4 separate regions of the Homo sapiens genome follow, and regions 1, 3 and 4 are each linked to region 2. Evidence: promoter capture Hi-C in 16 types of primary human blood cells and fetal thymus (Javierre and others, 2016). All regions are on one chromosome and are shown on one strand. Each heading gives the region's core, a stretch centred on a gene start or on the middle of the fragment in contact. The rest is flanking DNA. Distances are from core to core; before and after follow the strand shown. Region 1 has its middle 28 kb from the start of MFSD2A. Region 2 holds the start of BMP8B (bone morphogenetic protein 8b). Region 3 overlaps LOC105378669 (a long non-coding RNA gene). Region 4 has its middle 28 kb from the start of PABPC4.

Region 1 (3,800 bases), core at 594-3,093, 190 kb before region 2:
TCTCTGTCACCCAGGCGGGAGTGCAGTGGTGCAATCATGAGCTCAAGCAATCCTCCCGCATCAGCCTCCCGAGTAGCTGGGACCATAGGAATGCACCACCATGCCTGGCTAATTTTTGTATTTTTGTGGAGACAGAGTTTCACCATGTTGCCCAAGCTGGTCTCAGACTCCCGAGTTCAAGCAGTCCTCTTGCCTTGGCCTCCCAAAGTGCTGGAATTACAGTCATCAGCCACTGCGCCCATCGGCCTAGGAAGTTTTAAAATAATCAAAATACTAGCTTGAACTTTAAGATCAATGCAAATGTTTTCAAAATTAAAAATGTAGAGGTTTCATATAATTAATATGTGAATTTAGCAAGACTACTGGATATGAGATCAACATACAAATGTATTTCTTTATAATAGCAACAAAAAAATTAGAAAATGAAATTTACAAAAAATATCATTTACATCAGTATCAAAAATATCAAATACTTAGGAATAAATCTATTGAAAGATGTTTGAGATTTTAACCTGTGGCCAGGAGTGGTGGCTCATGCCTATAATCCCAGCACTTTGGGAGTCTGAGGTGGGAGAATTGCTTGAGCCCAGGAGTTGGAGACCAGCCTGGGCAACATAGCAAGACCCCACCTCTACAAAAAATGTAAAAAGAATCATAATAAATGTTCAAAGAAAAAAAAAAAGACCTCAACCTGAAACATTCTCTCTCTCTCTTTTTTTTTTTTTTTTGAGACAGAGTCTCATTCTGTTTTCAGGCTGGAGTGCAGTGGCGCGATCTCAGCTCACTGCAACCTCCGCCCTCCGAGTTCAAGCGATTCTCCTGCCTCAGCCTCCCGAGTAGCTGGGATTACAGGCGCCTGCCACTGCACCCGGCTAATTTTTTGTATTTTTAGTAGATATGGGGTTTCACCTTCTTGGCCAGGCTGGTCTCGAACTCCTGACCTTGTGATCCACCCGCCTTGGCCTCCCAAAGTGCTGGGATTACAGGTGTGAGCCACCGCGTCCGGCCCTCTCTCTTTTTTAAGAGACAGTGTCTCACTATTTTGGCCAGGCTGGTCTCAAACTCCCTGGCTCAGGTGATCTTCCTGCCTCAGCCTCCCAAGTAGCTGGGACTACGGGCATGCACCACCATGCCTGTTTCTATAAGACATTCTTGACATAAATTAAACACGACCTAAATAAATGGACAGATATTTCATGTTCATAAATTAGAAGACTCAATATTGTTAAGATGCCAGTTTTTTCCAATTAGTTCATAGATTCAGTGTAATTCCATCAAACTCCCAGCACATTCTGTGTGTGTATGTGTGTGTGTGTGTGTGTGCACACGCATACATTGACAAGCTGATTCCAAAATACATATGGACAATCCAAAAACCTTGAAGTTTGGCCAGGCATGGTGACTCATACCTGTAATCCCAGCACTTTGGGAGGCCAAGGCAGGCAGATCACCTGAGGTCAGGAGTTCAAGACCAACCTAGCCAATATGCTGAAACCCCCTATCTACTTAAAGTACAAAAAAATTAGCTGGGCATGATGGCGGGCATCTGTAGTCCCAACTACTTGGGAGGCTGAGGCAGGAGAATCGCTTGAACTTGGGAGGTGGAGGTTGCAATAAGCCAAGATCGCGCCATTGCACTTCAGCCTGGGAGAGAGTGAAACTCCATCTCAAAAACAAAACAAAACAAAACCTTGAAGTTGAAAGACTTACACTACCAAATTTCAACATTTACTATATAAATCTATAGTAATTAAGACAGGGGACTCTTGGAGTAAGAATAGCTGAGTAGATCACTTGAACAGGATAAAGAGTCCAGGGCCAGCCACGGTGGCTCATGCCTGTAATCCCAGCACTTTGGGACGCCGAGGCAGGTGGATCACCTGAAGTCAGGAGTTTGAGACCAGCCTGACCAATATGGTGAAACTCCGCCTCTACTAAAAATACAAAAATTAGCCGGGTGTGGTGGCGTGTGCCTGTAATCCCGGCTACTGGGGAGGCTGAGGCAGGAGAATTGCTTGAACCCGGGAGATGGAGGTTGCATTGAGCCGAGATCGCACCATTGCACTACAGCTTAGGCGACAGAGCAAGACTCTGTCTCAAAAAAAAAAAAAAAAAAAAAATAGAGTCCAAAAATGGACCTACACATATAGGTTCTTTTGATTTATGCCACTGTAATCAAGTAGGGGAGGGACGTCCTTTTAATAAAAGGTGCTGGAATAATTGGATAAGTACAGAGAAAAATAAACTCTGACCCTTAACTCACACTATACACAAAAATTAATTTGAGTGGATCATAGACCTAAATAAAAAAAGTATAAAACAACAATAAAACAACTTCTAAATAAAAACATAAGATAATTTTTTTGATATTGGGGTAAGTAAAGATTTCTTTTTTTTTTTTTTTTTTTGAGACGGAGTCTCACTCTGTTGTCAGGCTGGAGTACAGTGGTGCGATCTCCGCTCACTGCAACCTCCGCCTCCCAGGTTCAAACAATTCTCCTGCCTCAGCCTCCCGAGTTGCTGGGATTACAGGCATGCACCACCATACCCGGCTAATTTTTGTATTTTTAGTAGAGACGGGGTTTTACCATGTTAGCCAGGCTGGTCTCGAACTCCTGACCTCAGGTGATCCAGCCGCCTTGGCCTCCCCAAAGTGCTGGGATTACAGACGTGAGCCACCGCGCCCAGCCTCCTGAATGTAAATTATATCTCAATAAAACATTGAAAAGTAAGGAGTTTTTTGTTTATTTTTAATTACAAAAGCAAAATAAATGCTTGGTCTTTATAGACTACTAAAACAAGTATAACTAGAAGAATGACAGGCCTTGATCTCATTTCTAGGGACAAGATCTGTCTTCAAATTTATGCAGGTCTTCCATGGGACAAAGAGAAGGGTTGTATTGTGCAGATGCCAAAGAGAGGATCTAGAATCTGTGGGGACAAGCCACAAGGAGATAGCTTTCAAGATGAAGGAAACCTTTTTTTATGCCCTTCTCCACAAATGAAACAGGCTGCCTTGAGCCAAAATGAGCTGGCTGCCAAAGGCATGAGCAAGCAGAAGGCAGCCACAGGCATCCACGCATCAGGTGGGGTTGGATTAGACAGCCTAGGTCTCGTCCTCTGCCTCTGCTACTCCTTTAAGGAACAGCAAGGAGTAGAACAGCCCCTCCCACACTATGAGTTGTCCCTTTGTGTTAACAGAAATGGCCAAACCCATCTGCTGAAAGCCATAGATTGCTGGAGGACTAGCTCTGGAGTCTGAGCCCTGATGGCAGTGAAAAGGGAGGGAAGGACACAGGACAAAAGTCTTGGTTCTTAAGAAACGGACAGGCCAGGAGGTGGTTCACATCTGTAATCTCAGTACTTTGGGAGGCCAAGGAGGGAGGGTCACTTGAGCTCAGCAGTTAAGACCAACTTGGACAACATAGGGAGACCCTGTCTCTACAAAAAATAAAATAATTAGCTGGGCAAGGTGGCACGCCTCTAGTCCCAGCTACTCAGGATGCTGAGGCAGGAGGATTTGTTGAGCACAGGATTTCGAGGTTGCAGTGAGCCATGGTCACACTACTGTACTCCAGCTTAGGGGACAGAGTGAGACCTTGAAAAAAAAAAAGAGAGAAAGAAAAGAAAAAGGAAGAAAGGAAGAAGAAAGGGAGAAAGGGAGAAAGAACGAGAGAAAGGAAATAAAGAAAGAAAGAAAAGAAGGAACTGATAAATTTGGTGGGAAAAAATGGCCAGGCGCGGTGCCTCACACCTATAATCCCAGCACTTTGGGAGGCCGAGACAGGCAGATCACCTGA
Region 2 (3,714 bases), core at 784-3,283:
GACAGAGCAAGACTCCATCTCAAAAAAAAAAAAAAAAAATCCATCTCTAGAAATTCATCCTAAAGAAATCACCATGGATGTGCACAGATTATTCTACAAGATTGTTCATAACAACATAGTATATAATATAAAAATATAATTATCCCATAACATAAGCTTGATTAAAAAAATTATGATAACAATATGATGAAAAAATACCACGAAGCCAGTAAAAAAAGTGTGCAATAATTAATGGCATAGTGAAATACTGCAATATAACGTGAAGCTAATAAAGCAAATAAGATCCTGTTTTTTGTATGAAAAAATACACATACATGTAAGAAAAAGAGACATCAAATATTACCAGTGATTATCTCTGGAAACAGGGATTTGGGTGATTTTAAAATTTGTTGGGGGTAATATTTTTACTTTTCTGTACTGACCTGGCATAAGTTCCTTAATCGCTGTGTGCCTCAGTTTCCTCATTTGTTAAAAGAGGAGGTTCCAATGGTATGTACCCCCTGATGATGTGCAAAAGTGATTATGAAACTATTTTCAAAAGTTTCTACAAAAGCAAGTTACCTCTGTAATCAGGAAAAAGTAGTTCTTTTAGTGCTCTGAATAGTGTAATAATAATATTTATTTTATTTCATTTTATTATTTACCCTTGCAGAAATTTACTTCTTCGGTAAAAGACAGACTAGGCATGTGCTTAAGGAGCCAGCAAATGACCATTTACATTAATAATTTATTTAATATAGAAATTTTTATTGAAGTGATGACTTCTAAATGTGATTTTTGGGGGCATTATACACTTGCTTCGAGGTTTAATCTTCAATCCACATGGGGGGGCACCATAATCACTGGTGCCCAGGGCCCTCGTCTAGCCCCTGTGAGGCCCTTTGCAGTCCCTCCCTTGCCAGCCCCTCCAGCCTCCGCCATTTGCCCCGTGGGCTCTCCAGGTTCCACTTGAGGAGCTGCCCCCTGCCCCAGCCCAGCTCTACTGCTGTGTGACCTAGCGTAAGTCCCTTAACCGCTGTGTGCCTCAGTTTCCTCATTTGTTAAAAGAGGAGGTTCCAGTGGTAGGTACCCCCTGACGATGTGCAAGCATCACAGAAATGACACAAGACACACACTGAGAACATGCCTCGCGCGTGGCAAGTGCTGACTGTTACCTGCCATTATTAGGCTCCCCCGCCGGGGTCTCAGGGCCTTGGCACAAGCTCTTCCCTCTGCTTGGAGCACTTTCCTCCACTGACCTTTCCTGGCGCTCCAGGTCAACTCCAGGAGCCTTCCCAGTACAGTCTAGGTGCCTTCTCCTTCCGCAGCGCCTGAACCACACAGGAATAAGTAAGGCGAGAGCGCGCCCAGAGAAGAGCAGAGAGTGCAGAAAGGGGCTGAGTTAGTAGAGGCATTTCCGCGGGGATCCTTCTCCTGCCAGGCCTGCACCGGGGCCGTGGCGACTGAGAAGTGCACAGGTGGCTCCCGGGTGCTCCAGAAGGGCCCCAGAGCTCCTGGCCCGGCTAAAGGCAGGAGGCGGGTGCGCGTCTCCCCCGCGAAGCTGGATCAGTACTGGGGGCGCAGGGGGCGCACGCCGCGCAGCGAGGGCTGGCGGGGGCGGCCTGCCTGGGGCGCTGCCCAGGCTCACGCGGGAGCCAGGTGGGGGCGCGGGGAGGAGCAGCTGAGCAGGTGCCGGGAAGGAGGCGCCTGCAGCATGCCATGGCGACCCGCGCACGCGACGGCGGGGCGGCCGGGTGGCACCACTGGCGGGACCGGAAGGGCGCCGCGGCCCTAGGATCTCTGCGCCGAGGCCCGCGGCGGAAGCCACGACGGCCATGACCACGCTGACGCCCAGGCTGCGAGCCCCTCGCCCGGGCCGCCTGCCCACCCGCCACGCCCAGGTAGCACCTCGGGGTCTCCCCACCCGCGACACCGGCCGCAGCCCCGGGCCCCCTCGCAGGCGTGGCCCCCGCTCCCAGGCCCCGCCCCCGCCCCCCCATTGGTCAGTCCCGGGGTGGGGGCGGGCGACGCGGACCGCTGGGCAGGGCAGGGCAGGGACTCGCGGGAACCGCACCAAGCGGGTGGCTGCAGGAGCTCGCCCATCGCCCCTGCGCTGCTCGGACCGCGGCCACAGCCGGACTGGCGGGTACGGCGGCGACAGACGGATTGGCCGAGAGTCCCAGTCCGCAGAGTAGCCCCGGCCTCGAGGCGGTGGCGTCCGCGTCCTCTCGTCCAGGAGCCAGGACAGGTGTCGCGCGGCGGGCGCTCCAGGGACCGCGCTGAGGCCGCGGTCGCCGCCCGTCCCGCCCCGCCCCGCCGCCCGCCGCCCGCCGAGCCCAGCCTCCTTGCCGTCGGGGCGTCCCCAGGCCCTGGGTCGGCCGCGGAGCCGATGCGCGCCCGCTGAGCGCCCCAGCTGAGCGCCCCCGGCCTGCCATGACCGCGCTCCCCGGCCCGCTCTGGCTCCTGGGCCTGGCGCTATGCGCGCTGGGCGGGGGCGGCCCCGGCCTGCGACCCCCGCCCGGCTGTCCCCAGCGACGTCTGGGCGCGCGCGAGCGCCGGGACGTGCAGCGCGAGATCCTGGCGGTGCTCGGGCTGCCTGGGCGGCCCCGGCCCCGCGCGCCACCCGCCGCCTCCCGGCTGCCCGCGTCCGCGCCGCTCTTCATGCTGGACCTGTACCACGCCATGGCCGGCGACGACGACGAGGACGGCGCGCCCGCGGAGCGGCGCCTGGGCCGCGCCGACCTGGTCATGAGCTTCGTTAACATGGGTGAGTGCGGCCGCCCGCGCGGGGACCCTCGGAGTAAGCTGGCTGCAGGGGAGGGGCGCGCATCCGCGGGCTGTGCCGGGCCCTGGCCGAACGGGGAGTCACAGACGGTGGACGCGAACCACAGGGGAGTGGGACCGCCGTGGTTAGGGAAGGTCTAAGGGTCATGGGGGCCCCCTGGGCTGCGGGGTGGTCAGGAGCAGAGTGTGGGGGACTGTGGACTCCCAGGCGCTGCCTTCACCCTGCCCCAAACACACCCAGGAGTAAGAATCAGGTGATGTCTTTGCCCACCTGGGCTGCCCCGGGAAGACAGCCTGGTCCTGGGGAGACAGGTGAGTAAACAGAGGCCGGGATGCTGTCACTGTGATAAGGGCAGTACTGAGGAGAGGGACAAAGTTCAGCGTGGAAACCTGTGGTCACATCGGAGTGACCAGAGCTGAGTCGCGTGCCCTGAGTCCACAGCAGGCTCTTCTCTGTGCGGAGCCTGGGTGGGGTGCGGCTGTCAGGGGGGCGGCTGGGGAAGGAGCAAACTCAGCTCGCTGGGGCAGGGACTGTTGCCTTGTCACCCTGGGCCCAACACCTGGGATGTGATCTGGTATGGGGTGAGTGTCCAGTCCTGTGGAATGGTCCAGTGGGCAGCTGGACCCACTTTGTTCTCCCAGGCAAAGCCCGGCTTTTCCTGTCTGCAAATATCTTGTATCAAACCCTGGAGCTATTTATTCCCTAAGATCTCAGAGATTTTTTTTCCAGTACTAAACTCTTTGGTCTATGGTCATGTAGTTACTATTGGTCAGGTCACCCATCTGCTTTGCCTCCTGTCTGTGGCTAGTGACAGTCTGGGGTCTGGGGAACCAAGGACCACAGATCAGCCCAAAGTCGGGGAGCTGTGGGGCTGAGAGGAGGGAGAGGGTCCCTGGCCCCGGCCATCAGCCTCCCTCCACAGACAGCATCATTAATTCTTCATCCTCCCG
Region 3 (3,646 bases), core at 1,026-3,525, 230 kb before region 2:
CAGTCGGCACTTTGAACATTCCACCTAGAAATCTCCTTAGCCAAATTCACCAGTACATTAAGTATACTTTCTATTTTATGTTTTACCACAGGTGACATTCTTCAAAACATTTTGCTACTACATAAAAATAGTTGCTTTTTCTCCAGCCTCCAATAACAATTTCCTCCAATAACAGTTTCCTTCAAATCTTCACTAACAGTCTCCTAAGGCCCTTCAGCTTCCAACAACTACCTGGTCCTAGGTCACTGTCCCATGTTTTAGGTTTTTGTCACAGCAGCATAACACTACTTGTATCAATTTCTATTCCAGTTACCTATTATTACCTTGGTGCAAAAGTAATTGTGGGTTTTGTCATTAGTTTATTATTATTATTATTATTTTTGAGACAGAGTCTCGTTCTTTGGCCCAGGTTGGAGTGCAGTGGTGTAATCTCGGCCCACTGCAACCTCCACCTCCAGGGTTCAAGCAATTCTCCTGCCTCAGCCTCCCAAGTAACTGGAATTACACATGCCCCCCAACCATGCCCAGCTAATTTTTATATTTTTAGTAGAGACAGGGTTTCACCATGTTGGCCAGGCTGGTCTTGAACTCCTGACCTCAGGTGATCCACCCGTCTTGGCCTCCCAAAATGCTGGGATTACAGGTGTGAGCCACAGCATCGGCAGGTTTTTGTCATTACTTTTAACGGCAAAACCCGCAATAACTTTTGCACCAACCTAATACTATTATAATAACAATCTATACCCAACTTCGTGACTTAAAACAATGATTTATTATCTCTCATGCTCAGTGGGTTGACTGAAGTCAGCTGAGCAGTCCTCACTTGGGGTCTCATGTGATTAGCATTTGAAGGTGGCTGGGGCTGGAGCCATCTGAAAGCTTCACTGGGCTGGATATCCAGAATGGCTCATTCACATAACTCGAAGTTGATGCTGGTTCTCTGCTGGGAGCTTAGTTAGGACTGTCAATCAGAGTGCCAACAGGCAGCCTGTCCATGTGGCTTAGGATTCTCACATTCTAGTGTGTGGGTTTCTGAGGAGTGTCTCAAGAGCAAACATTTCAAGAGATCCAGCTGGAAGTTACAATGTTTCTTGTTATCTAAACTTGGACGTTTCAGAATGACTCTTCCTCTGTATTTTTTTTTTTTTTGAAGCAGGGTCTTTCTCTGCTGCCCAGGCTGAAATGCAGTAGCACGATCATGACTCACTGCAGCCTCCACCTCCTGGGCTCAAGTGGTCTTCCACCTCAGCCTCCCAAGCAGCTGGGACTACAGGGGTGCACTACTATGTGTGGCTAATTAAAAAAAACAAACATTTTTTATAGAGTTGGAGTCTCACTGTGTTGCATAGGCTCTCTGCATTCTATTGATTAAGCAAGTTAGCATTCACTAAGTCCAGCCCGTATGCAAGAAGGGTAACTCCACATCAGAGGGGAGAAATTGGTGATGTTTATAGCTGGTGACAATCTACATCATCAATTTAGAGATTATTTTATCCACTTCACAAAAGTTACCACGTTTATAACTAGGATTGTATTAAATGTATTAATTTCAGTAGACTGGACATATTAAATCTTCCCATCTAAGAATGGGAGACAGGCTGGATGTGATGGCTCATTCCTGTAATCCCAGCACTTTGGGAGGCTGAGGCAGGCGGATCACTTGAGGTCAGGAGTTCAAGACCAGCCTGGCCATCATGGTGAAACCCCATCTCTACTAAAATTACAAAAAAATTAGCTGGGAATGGTGGCAGGTGCCTGTAATCCCAGCTACTCAGGAGGCTGAGGCAGAAGAATCACTTGAACCGGGAGGTGGAGGTTGCAGTGAGCTGAGATTGTGCCACTGCACTCCAGCCTGGGCGACAGAGCCAGACTTCATCTCAAAAAATAAAATAAAATAAAATAAAATAAAATAAAATAAAATAATGGGAGATGTTTTACTACTTGTTTAGATTTTGTTTTATAATTTATGGTTAATCTATGACAGAAACTTCTCTTTTGGAACAAAAATGTAAAAAAAAAATAGTACTGTGTACACTTGGAGCATTTGCTAGAGTTTCTCTATGAGACTGCATTGTATAGGTTTATGATTTCTAATTATGCCCAAGAAAATTCAAAAATTATAGAATAGATCTATTAGAATCATTGTAGAAGTAAATGCCTACATGAATGTGAATTATGGGTGATGGCTAAAGCAGTGGCTTAAAGCCAGAAAAATCCAGCAATTTCTGGATTTTCATTCATTCATAAGTTGATTGAACCAAGAACGTCATCTCTCCCTACTGAATCTGCCTCCCTTCTCCAACCCCACAAAATTAAACAAAAGCCAGATTATTGGTCCTAGATGGGTACTTTGTGAGGGCAAAAATAAGTAGTCTCTATCATGTTAATTATCACTACCATTCAATGAGTAACTACTATGTGCTAGGTAATGGGTAGATATTTTGCACTTATTATCTCATTAAAGATTAAATTAGGCCAGTAGGCCAATAGAACAAAATAGAGATCTCAGACATAGACCCATGTAGAAATATGGGAATTTAATATACAGTTAAAGTATACTACAAATCAATGAGAATATGACTCAGAGTCCAACCAGGAAAATATGTCAGTTAAGGTGCAACCAGGAGACAGAAACCATACAGTAATTTGAACAGGAAGGGCCGGGCGTGGTGGCTCACGCCTGTAATCCCAGCACTTTGGGAGGCTGAGGTGGGCAGATCACAATTTCAGGAGTTTGAGACCAGCCTGGCCAACAGAGTAAAACCCCATCTTTACTAAAAATACAAAAATTAGCTGGGCATGGTGGCAGGCGCCTGTAATCCCAGCTACTCAGGAGGCCAAGGCAGGAGAATTGCTTGAAACTGAAAGGCAGAGGTTGCAGTGAGCTGAGATCACGCCACTGCACTCCAGCCTGGACAAAAGAGTGAAACTCCGTCTCAAAAAAAAAAAAAAGTTTGAACAGGAAAGTTTAATACAAAGAACTTTTTTTTTTTTTTTTTTTTGAGATGGAGTCTTGCTCTGCCACTCAGGCTGGAGTGTAGTGGAGCGATTTTGGCTCACTGCAGCCTCCACCTCCCAGGCTCCAATGATTTTCCTGCCTCAGCCTCCCATATAGTTGGGATTACAGGTATGCGCCACCACCCCCAGCTAATTTTAGTATTTTTAGTAGAGACAAGATTTCACCATGTTGGCCAGGCTGGTCTCAAACTCCTGACCTCAGGTGATCTGCCCACCTCGGCCTCCCAAAGTGCTAGGATTACAGGCGTGAGCTACCACACATGGCTACAAAGGACTATTAACTATAACAAAATAGAATGCCCAAAGAAGAGTCCCCCCTCCCCCACTCTCAGGGCTGTGCTCCAAAACGTGTTGCAGAGGGAGTACCTCTTCACTGGATGGTGGAGAAGTTGCTAAGGTGTCATATCAGTGAAATTTGCTAGAAATCTACCCAAGAGGAAGCCAGGGGGAGTTGGAGGACACTGAGCGATGCTGGCTGCTATGTGCTGTAGGAGGCAGGTCTAGAGAAGCCATGTGGTACTAGCTCAGTGCCACAGAAACTGCAAAATCCTGCAATCCCACATACTGCAAAATCCTGACGAGATGGAAAGATAGAAGAGGAGAAACTCATTTTCCTCTGTGTCCCTTT
Region 4 (3,766 bases), core at 523-3,022, 180 kb after region 2:
TCCAAAGGAGCCAGGGAGGATCATCCCATGTAGGCCCTTGTAGGAGAGAATGGCTCCAGGGGAATTACCCTGATGAAAAATACGTCACCCACACTTCCACACCCAAACAAATGAGCAAAGGATAACAGGCTTGTTGGGACTCACAGCTCAGTTGTCCAGACCTTCAAAGAATATATTCTCACTATGTGATTCATTTTATGTGTCAACTTGACTGAGTCATGGACTGCTCGGTTTATTTGGTCAAACATTGTGAGTGTATCTGTGAGGCTGTTTTTGGATGGGATTAACACTTGACTGAATAAAGCAAACTGCATGCCCCCATGTGGGTGGCCCTCATCCAGTCAGACCTGAATAGAACAAAAAGGCCACCCCTCCCTCAAGTAAGAGGCAATGTCTCCTGCCTGACCGTATGAGCTGGGACATGGGTCTTTTCCATTCTATAGATTTGAACTGAAACATTGGCTTTTCTTGGATCTCAAGCCAGTAGACTTTCAGACTGGAACACACATTGGCTCTCCTGGGTCTCCAGCTTGCTAACTGCAGATCTTGGGACTTCTCAACCTTCATAATCACATAAGCCAGTTTCTCATAATAAATAAATGGGTCCTGGCCGGGTGCAGTGGCTCACGCTTGTAATCCCAGCACTTTGGGAGGCCAAGGTGGGCGGATGACAAGGTCACGAGTTCAAGACCAGCCTGGGCAATATGATGAAACCCAGTCTCTACTAAAAATACAAAAATTAGCTGGGCCTGGTGGCAGGCGCCTGTAGTCCCAGCTACTCGGGAGGCTGAGGCAAGAGAATCGCTTGAACCCGGGAGGTGGAGATTGCAGTGAGCCAAGATTGTGCCACTGAACTCCAGCCTGGGCGACAGAGCGAGACTCCATCTCAAAAAAAAAATAAATAAATAAAAATAAGTCCTGTTGGTTCTGTTTCTCTGGAGAGCCCTAATACATTTTTTTTTTTTTCGAGACAGGCTCTTGCTCTGTCACCCAGGCTGGAGTCCAGTGGCGCTATCTCGGCTCACTGCAACCTCCGCCTCCCGGGATCAAGAGAATCTCGTGCCTCAGCTTCCAAAGTAGCTGGGACTAAAAGCATGTGCCATCACACCCAACTAATTTTTGTATTTTTGGTATTGATGGGGTTTCACCACGTTGGCCAGGCTGGTCTCAAATTCCTGACCTCAAATGATCTGCCCGCCTCGGCCTCCCAAAATGCTGGGATTACAGGCGTAAGCCACCACGCCGAGCCCTGACTAATACATTCTGTTTTATACAAACTGTTTTTACTGGGTGGAAAAGAAGGGAAAACTGCCTAACTTGTTTTGTAATACTAGTATGCCCTTGTCATCAGCCCACGACAGGGCAATTAAAGGTAAGAACATTTTAGAACAAGCTTAGTTACGGTTATAGATACAAACATCCTAAATAATAAAACAGAATCCATATGACATCTAAATTAGAAGCAAATATGTAGTAGAGTTTAGCCAAAAATGCAAGGATAGGTTAACAACAGGGAAAGAATTCCTGTTCTGAACCTTAATACATTAAAAGATAAAAAGTATATAATCACTTAAATAAATAATCATTTGATGAATTCATTCATTTTTCAAATCTTAGCAAATTAGGATTAGTAGGATAATACCTTAACCCTATAAAGGATATTTGCCAAATTCCTAAACATCAAATTCAACGGTGAAACTCTAGCATTCCCATAAAAGTTAAAAATATGAATGCCCTTTATTCAAAATTTGATGGGCATTTCTAGCTAATGTAATAAATATAATAGAAATCAGAGGCTTAGGAAGTAGGAAGAGGTAACACCATTCTTATATGCATGATTCATTTTCTATTTGGAAAATAAAAATCTACATGCAGAGCATTAGAATTGATAAGAGTATTTGACAGGTTAGTTGAATACAAGATCATCCCACACATTCTGACAGCACTCTTGTTAATTGCTTATTGGAGTAACAACAAATAAGAACATATTGTGTCCAGAGTCGGTTCCTTCTGGTGGGTTCTTGGTCTCACTGACTTCAAGAATGAAGCTGTGGACCTTCCCGGTGAGTGTTACAGCTCTTAAAGATGGCACGGGCCCAAAGAGTAAGCACCAGCGAGTTTTATTATGAAAAGTGAAAGAACAAAGCTTCCACAGCTTGGAAGGGGACCCAAGCCGGTTGTGGTGGCTGGCTGGGGTGGGGGGGGGTGGCCAGCTTTTATTCCCTTATTTGTCCCCACCCATGTCCTGCTGATGGGTTCATTTTACAGAGCACTGATTGGTCCATTTTACAGTGTGCTGATTGGCGCATTTTACAAACCTCTAGCTAGCCACAGAGCGCTGATTGGTGCATTTTTCAATCCTAGCTACAGAGTGCCAGTTGGTGCATTTTACAATTTTCTTGTAAGACAGAAAAGTTCTCCAAGTCCCCACCCAACCCAGAAGTCCAGGTGGCTTCACCTCTCAATGTGGCTGGGCTTGGAGGCTCACACCTGTAATCCCAACACTTTGGGAGGCTGAGGTGGGTGGATCACCGAGGTCAGGAGTTTGAGACCACCCTGGCCAACATAGAGAAACCCTGTCTCTGCTAAAAATACAAAAATTAGCCAGGTGTGGTGGTGCTTGCCTGTAATCCCAGCTACTCAGGAGGCTGAGGCAGGAGAATCGCCTGAACCCGGGCAGCGGAGGTTGCAGTGAGCCGAGATGGCTCCCCTGCACTCCAGCCTGGGGGACAGAGCAAGACTCCATCTCAAAAAAAAAAAAGCAAAAAAAAGCTGGGTGGGGTGGCTCACGCCTGTAATCCCAGCACTTTGGGAGGCCGAGGTGGGTGGATCACGAGGTCAAGAGATCAAGACCATCTTGGCCAACATGGTGAAACCCCGTTTCTACTAAAAATACAAAAATTAGGTGAGCGTTGTGGCACACACCTGTAGTCCCACCTACTCGGGAGGCTGAGGCAGCAGAATCACTTGTACCTGGAAGGCAGAGGTTGCAGTGAGCCGAGATCACACCACTGCACTCCAGCCTGGCGACAGAGTGAGAATCTGTCTCAAAAAAAAAAAAAAAGAAAGAATGTATTATTTATAATGCATTTCCAATAGCAACAAAAATTATAAGGCACCTAGGAATATACATGTAACATATTGATCTGCATTGATCAATATACAAAATATACATATAACAAAAGATGGCTAGATGTTTTCTCAGAAAACTATGAAACATTTTTAAATGTAAAGGAATACAAAACTAAACATACTCTTACCATACAACACAGCAGTCATGCTTTTTAATATTTAACCAAATGAGTTAAAAACATATCCGCCCAGAAAACCTGTGCATGGATGATTATAGCAGTTTTATTCATAATTGTCAAAACTTAGAAGCAACTAAGATGTCCTTTAGTAGGTAAATGGAGAAACTGTGGTACATCCATACAATTGAATATTAATTCAACTCTAAAAATAAATCAGCTATCAAGCCACAGAAAGAAATGGAGGAAACAAATGCATGTTACTAAGTGAAAGAAGGCAATCTGAGGCTGGGCACAGTGGCTTATGTCTGTAATCCCAGCACTTTGGGAGGCAAAGGCGGGTGGATCATCTGAGGTCAGGCGTTCGAGACCAGCCTGGACAAGATGCTGAAACCCTGTCTCTACTAAAAATACAAAAATTAGCTGGGCGTGGTGGTGTGCGCCTGCAGCTACTTGGGAGGCTGAGGCAGGAGAATCGCTTGAACCCAGGAGGCAGAGGTCACAGTGAGCTGAGATCG

What was found. The method cuts DNA at HindIII sites, captures the fragments that hold promoters and counts their contacts. A CHiCAGO score of 5 or more calls a contact.
Region 1: a contact is called between a fragment that was not itself captured here and the fragment with the promoter of BMP8B in region 2, in 2 of 17 cell types (megakaryocytes and endothelial precursors). The highest score is 8.3, in megakaryocytes.
Region 3: a contact is called between a fragment that was not itself captured here and the fragment with the promoter of BMP8B in region 2, in 2 of 17 cell types (endothelial precursors and M0 macrophages). The highest score is 5.6, in endothelial precursors.
Region 4: a contact is called between a fragment that was not itself captured here and the fragment with the promoter of BMP8B in region 2, in 1 of 17 cell types (endothelial precursors). The highest score is 7.2, in endothelial precursors.

The regions. Positions count from the first base shown.
Region 1 is chr1:39,981,454-39,985,253 of GRCh38, reverse strand. No RefSeq gene overlaps it. Among named protein-coding and RNA genes, the nearest start is that of MFSD2A, 28 kb to the right of the region's middle. The HindIII fragment of the contact is 9,070 bases long and covers 1-3,800 here.
Region 2 is chr1:39,787,184-39,790,897 of GRCh38, reverse strand. BMP8B (bone morphogenetic protein 8b) reads left to right here and starts at 2,033. Exons shown (of 7, transcript NM_001720.5): 1 at 2,033-2,746. The coding sequence starts at 2,413. LOC101929536 (a long non-coding RNA gene) reads right to left here and starts at 1,922. Exons shown (of 1, transcript NR_135805.1): 1 at 727-1,922. RefSeq lists an enhancer at 1,426-1,927 and a silencer at 1,482-2,081. The HindIII fragment of the contact is 19,151 bases long and covers 159-3,714 here.
Region 3 is chr1:40,018,226-40,021,871 of GRCh38, reverse strand. The region is part of intron 2 of LOC105378669 (a long non-coding RNA gene); the gene reads left to right. Among named protein-coding and RNA genes, the nearest start is that of CAP1, 21 kb to the left of the region's middle. RefSeq lists an enhancer at 997-1,226. The HindIII fragment of the contact is 2,788 bases long and covers 882-3,646 here.
Region 4 is chr1:39,602,442-39,606,207 of GRCh38, reverse strand. No RefSeq gene overlaps it. Among named protein-coding and RNA genes, the nearest start is that of PABPC4, 28 kb to the right of the region's middle. The HindIII fragment of the contact is 753 bases long and covers 1,396-2,148 here.